Linked DNA regions of Homo sapiens: region 1 is linked to region 2. Evidence: promoter capture Hi-C in human tissues and cell types (Jung and others, 2019). All regions are on one chromosome and are shown on one strand. Each heading gives the region's core, a stretch centred on a gene start or on the middle of the fragment in contact. The rest is flanking DNA. Distances are from core to core; before and after follow the strand shown.

Region 1 (2,700 bases), core at 23-2,522, 150 kb after region 2:
CCCAGGTTCAACCAATTCTACTGCCTCAGCCTCCAGAGTAGCTGGGATTACAGGCACGCACCACCACACCCGGCTAATTTTTTGTATTTTTAGTAGAGGTGGGGTTTCACCATGTTGGCCAGGCTGATCTCAAACTCCTGACCTCAGGTGATCTGCCTGCCTCGACCTCCCAAAGTGCTGGGATTACAGGCATGAGCCACCGAACCCAGCCGGCAGAGGTTATTCTTGCAAGGAGTCTGAGGCTGTGTGAGGCAACCTCCTAGCACTATGCTAAAGCCTTGTAACTCCAAGATTCAAGGATTCTGCGATGCTGCCTTCCCAGATTCTCAGTCTTCTAGGATAGGGGATGTGAATAGCCTTGGGGTGGAGGCCGGAGATTTGGCGTGCAGGGTTGGGGTGAGTGGGGGGTGAGGAGGGAAGCAGGGGATGGCCACAGCCCGTGGCCTGGAACTGGGGACCTTGCTGCCTGCCTGCCCGGAACAGTCTTAGCTCTGGTGCTGGCCCAGCCTCCGAGGCCTGGGTTGTGTTTGCAGAGCCTGGCGATCCTGCATCCTGTGGTCAAGCTTTATCGAAGCATCATTGGCCCAGATTGAAAGAAGTGCTTTATTGTAGCCTGCAGCCCGGAGGCCTGGAGCAACAGGCAATTCAAACCACAGAGCCCCATGCCTTCTCCCGCACCTCCTTACCCAAGGAAAATTTGAGTCAGCAAACATGCAGGATGAAGACACAAATAAAAAATAACGAGGGCTAGCATTTATTAAATATTCGCTATGGGCCAGATACTGTTCTGAGGGCTTTGCTTGTATTAACTCATTCCAGTCTCCCTGGGAGGGAGGCACTGTTGTTACCATTTAACCCATTTTACAGATGGGGAACCTGAGGCTTAAGTTCTGCTTGGTTATTGGGTAGCAGAGCTGGGATGCAAACCGGGAAGACTGGCTCCAAAGTCTGTGTCTCCCTCCCCCTTTTTTTAGACAAGGTCTCTGTTGCCCAGGCTAGAGTGCAGTGGCATGATCATAGCTCACTGCAGCCTCAAACTCCTGGGCTCAAGCAATCCTCCTGCCTCAGCTTCCTGAGTAGCTGGGACTACAGGTGTAAGCTACCACACCTGGCTAATATATATATTATATATATATATATATAAAATACATATTTATATTTTTTAGAGTTGGAGTCTCATGGCTGGGTGTGGTGGCTTATGCCTGTAATCCTAGCACTTTGGGAGGCTGAGGCGGGCAGATTGCTTGAGCTCAGGAGTTCAAGACCAGCCTGGGCAACATGGTGCAACTCCTAAAGATACAAAAGTTAGCTGGGCATGGTGGCATGCACCTGTAGTGACAGCTACTGAGGAGGCTTAGGCAGGAGAATCACTTGAACCTGGGAGGCAAAGGTTGCAGTGAGCCAAGATCACACCTCTGCACTCCAGCCTGGGTGACAGAGTGAGACTCCATCTCAAAAAAAAAAAAAAGAGATGGGGTATCACTATGTTGCCCAGGCTGGTCTCAAATTCCTGGAGTTAAGCGATCCTCCTGCCTTGGCTTCCCAAAGTGCTGGGATTGCAGGTATGAGCCACCATGCCTGGCCAAATCTGTGTCCTTGGCCAGGATGGACCACTGCTACATCCGGCCTCTCTGCAAGCTGGGGTGGGGTTGGGGAGACAGAAAGAGCAGAGAGAGGTAGACAGAGCCAGACAGTGAGAGGGATGGCGCTAAGGCCCTCAGAGGTGATGTCCCTGGGCTGTGCCCAGGAGGAGAAGCAGAATTGGCTGAGTTACCAGGATCATCTGTCCTATCTCCCCCAGGTCGTCAGACGAGGTGTCCAGGTGTGGAAGGGCAGTGTCCCACCTTGTCAAGCCTTCCAAAGTCAAACAAAGATGGGCTTTGCATGATCTGATTCCGGTGGCCAGGGAGCTGGGTTCCCCTGGCTCTTCTTTTTTTTTTTTTTGAGAGGGAATCTCGCTCTGTCGCCCAGGCTGGACTGCAGTGGCGCGATCTCAGCTCACTGCAAGCTCTGCCTCCTGGGTTCACGCCATTCTCCTGCCTCAGCCTCCCGAGTAGCTGGGACTACAGGCGCCCGCCACCATGCCCAGCTAATTTTTTTTTTTTTTGTATTTTTAGTAGAGATGGGGTTTCACCATGTTAGCCAGGATGGTCTCGATCTCCTGACCTCGTGATCCACCTGCCTCGGCCTCCCAAAGTGCTGGGATTACAGGCGTGAGCCACCGTGCCCGGCCTCCCCTGGCTCTTTTAAAGGGTGGGAATTTGGGGCTGCGGAGGGCCAAGAGGTCAACCTTGGAGGACCCACCCACTGTGGCCTAGTCTCCTGGGGGAGCACCTGACCCTGAGGTGAGGGTGCTGCCTGGGATTCAAACCAGAGGGTCTGACTTCAAAGCCTGTGTACCTCCACACTTTTTTTTTTTTTTTTTGAGATGGAATTTCACTCCTGTTGCCCAGGCTGGAGTGAAGTGGTGTGATCTCGGCTTACTGCAGCCTCTGCCTCCTGGGTTCCAGCAATTCTTCTGCCTCAGCCTCCGGAGTAGCTGGGATTACAGGCACGTGCCACCATGCCTGGCTGATTTTTGAATTTTTAGTAGAGACGGGGTTTCACCATGTTGCTCAGGTTGGTCTCGAACTCCTGACCTCAGGTGATCCACCTGCCTCAGCTTCCCAAAGTGTTGGGATTACAGGCGCAAGCCACTGT
Region 2 (2,700 bases), core at 62-2,561:
AGGAGGCAACCATGACATAATGGGGCAGACAGGCTCCAACTCAGGGAGCCTCTGGGTGGAGAAGACAAGCCGTGGGGTCAAATGCCCAAAGGACACTTGACATTTTCCATAGGAGGGGACCTTAGGGTTCTAGTTCCTAGCCCAGGGAGCGGGGTGGGGGGTGCTCCCAGGGATCAGCAGGCAGGGCTGCCAGCCAGGTGGCCAGCCAGGGGACCAGATGACCAGATGAGACTCAATCTAGTCTTGAGCCTTGATCCACCCCCCCTCCCCGACACACCCAGAGAGGCTTCATTTCCGTCGCTGTCCTCCACTCCCGGTCACCATCCTCCTGGGCTCCTCATCCCTAAGGGCAGAGGCCAGGGGAAGGGGACCCACGCAGGCTGCAGGGGTCTCTGGGCTGGGAGAAGGTGGGCTCTGACTCAGAACGTTTGTGCATCCTCCTACTCCCCCCAAACCCCGCCCCAGGAGCCACACCCCAGGGGTTTCCCAGATACAGGTAGAAAAATAGATCCAAGTCGCAAGGAACCCTGAAGGGTCTGGAAACGCCAGCCAGTGCTGCCCGAAAGCCCGAAGGTGGATAGGTGGACCGGGGGCGGGTGTGACGCCCCCCCCCCCATACCTGGGGCGGGCAGTGGATCCCTACTGCGACCAAGCAGAGGGGGAGCCACAGGTGATGGGAGCCACAGGTGACCAGGGTGGCCCGAGGAGGCCGCCACCACCCGACGATCAGGTTTCCGCAGCGCGCCCCGCAGCGGGGCCCCGCGCAGGGGACCGGCACCGGCCCACCGCGGTCCCCTCGTCTGTCTACACCAAGGAGGTTCCCACCGCGGTCCCCTCGTCTGTCTACACCGAGGGGGCACGGGAGGTCAGAGATGAGGGGCAGTGAGGGGGCCAGAGAAAGGGCCTGCTCTGCGGGAGGGGGAAGAGGTCCCGCCACCAAAACCCCATCATACCCTCCGAACCCCCCAAATCAAGAGGGCCCCGAAAAGTTTATCCAGGACCCCGGACTCCAGCCGACCGTCCACGTGTCAGCGCGGCCGAGCTCACGCGAGCCTGACCCCGAGTGGGTCCGAGGGGCGGAACCCGGAGGGGGGTCGAGGTCCCTGGCTCGCCCCGCTCCCTTCAGCCCTGGCTGGGGGCGCAGGAGCGGCCACCATCCTGGCCGCGGGAGCCGGGCGGGAAGTGTCCGGCGCGTTGGCGCTGGCGGCGGGCGGCGGGCGGCCGCGCGCTGGGGCCGGACTCACCGTGCGGAGCTCCTGGGTTCGGTCCTTCATGCTCCCGGGAGTGGCAGCGGCGCCGGCTGCAGCCGTGTGAGCCCCGCATGCGCGACGGCCGCCCCGCGGCTGCGCAGCGCCAGCCCGGCCCCGCCCCGGCCCCCGGGACCCCGGCCCCGCCCCACCCCGCCCGGGCCCCGCCCAGACCCCGCCCAGACCCCGCCCCACCCCGCACGAGCAGCCCCGTGGGGATCGAAGCCCTGGGGTCTCGTCCTGGACGTTCCGCACGCGTGATCGCTCCCGGGGATGGGTCCCCAGAGACCCTGCTGCCTCCTCTGCCCCAGCCCTGTCTCGTTTTTTATTTATTATTTTTGGAGACAGGGTCTCGCTCTGTCGCCCAGGCTGGAGTGCTGTGGTGCAATCATAGCTCACTGCAGCCTTGAGCTCCTGAGCTCAGGCAATCCTCCCGCCTCAGTCTCCTGGGTGGCTGGGACTAGAGTTGCTCGCCACTACTCCTGAATAATTTTCAAATATTTTGTAGAGACAGGGTCTTGCTATGTTACTCAGGCTGGTCTTGAACTCCTGTCCTCAAGCGATCCTCCCTCCTCCCAAAGCTCTGCGATTACAGGCGTGAGCCACCGTGCCTGGCTTCCAGCCTCTTCCCGACTTAGCAGCTCAGCATCCCTGTCCCAGAATCCGGTCCTCATCCTCAGATCCCTTCACTTCCCCAGAATTTGCTGAAGGTTGTAACTCCCTCCTTCATTTCATTACCTTGGGACCTCCTGCTCTCCCTTCTGTTCCCCAGCCAAAAACCTCCTGGAGAGTTCCAGTCTGGGAGCCTCCACCCTTCCCCCTTGCTCCCATCATCCAGTAGGGACTCAGGCACTGGCCTCTTCTTTCCCTAGGATTTCTCAGTTCACAGCTCTGATGCTGCGTGACCCACCCCTTTTTCCTGCAGGATGAAGGAACTCCTCTATCTTTTTATGTTTGTTTGTTTGTTTGATTATTTATTTATGAGATGGAGTTTCACTCTTGTCGCCCAGGCTGGAGTGCAGTGGCGCTATCTCAGCTCTGCCTCCTGGGTTCAAGCGAGTCTCCTGCCTCATCCTCCCAAGTAGCTGGGATTACAGGTGCCCACCACCACGCCCGGCTAATTTTTTGTATTTTTTAGTAGAGACAGGGTTTCACCATGTTGAGCAGGCTGGTCTCAAACTCTTGACCTCTTGATTCTCCCGCCTCGGCCTCCCAAAGTGCTGGGCTTATAGGCGTGAGCCACCGTGCCCGGCCTATTTTTTTTTTTTTTTTTTGAGACGGAGTCTCACTCTGTTGCCCAGTCTGGAGTGCAGTAGCACGATCTTGGCTCACTGCAACCTCCACCTCCCGAGTTCAAGCAATTCTCCTGCCTCAGCCTCCCAAGTAGCTTGAGATTACAGGCACCCACAACCACGCCTGGCTAATTTTTTTGTATTTTTAGTAGAGAAGGGGT

What was found. The method cuts DNA at HindIII sites, captures the fragments that hold promoters and counts their contacts. A contact is called where the count stands out against the background at its distance.
Region 1: a fragment that was not itself captured here is called in contact with the fragment with the promoter of STX1A in region 2 in 1 of the 25 tissues and cell types used here (lymphoblastoid cells).

What each region holds. Positions count from the first base shown.
Region 1 is chr7:73,873,161-73,875,860 of GRCh38, forward strand. No RefSeq gene overlaps it. Among named protein-coding and RNA genes, the nearest start is that of TMEM270, 13 kb to the left of the region's middle. The HindIII fragment of the contact is 7,065 bases long and covers 1-2,700 here.
Region 2 is chr7:73,718,358-73,721,057 of GRCh38, forward strand. It overlaps STX1A (syntaxin 1A), which reads right to left and starts at 1,312. Exons shown (of 10, transcript NM_004603.4): 1 at 1,245-1,312. The coding sequence starts at 1,274. RefSeq lists silencers at 708-787, 898-957, 968-1,167, 1,228-1,427. The HindIII fragment of the contact is 19,582 bases long and covers 680-2,700 here.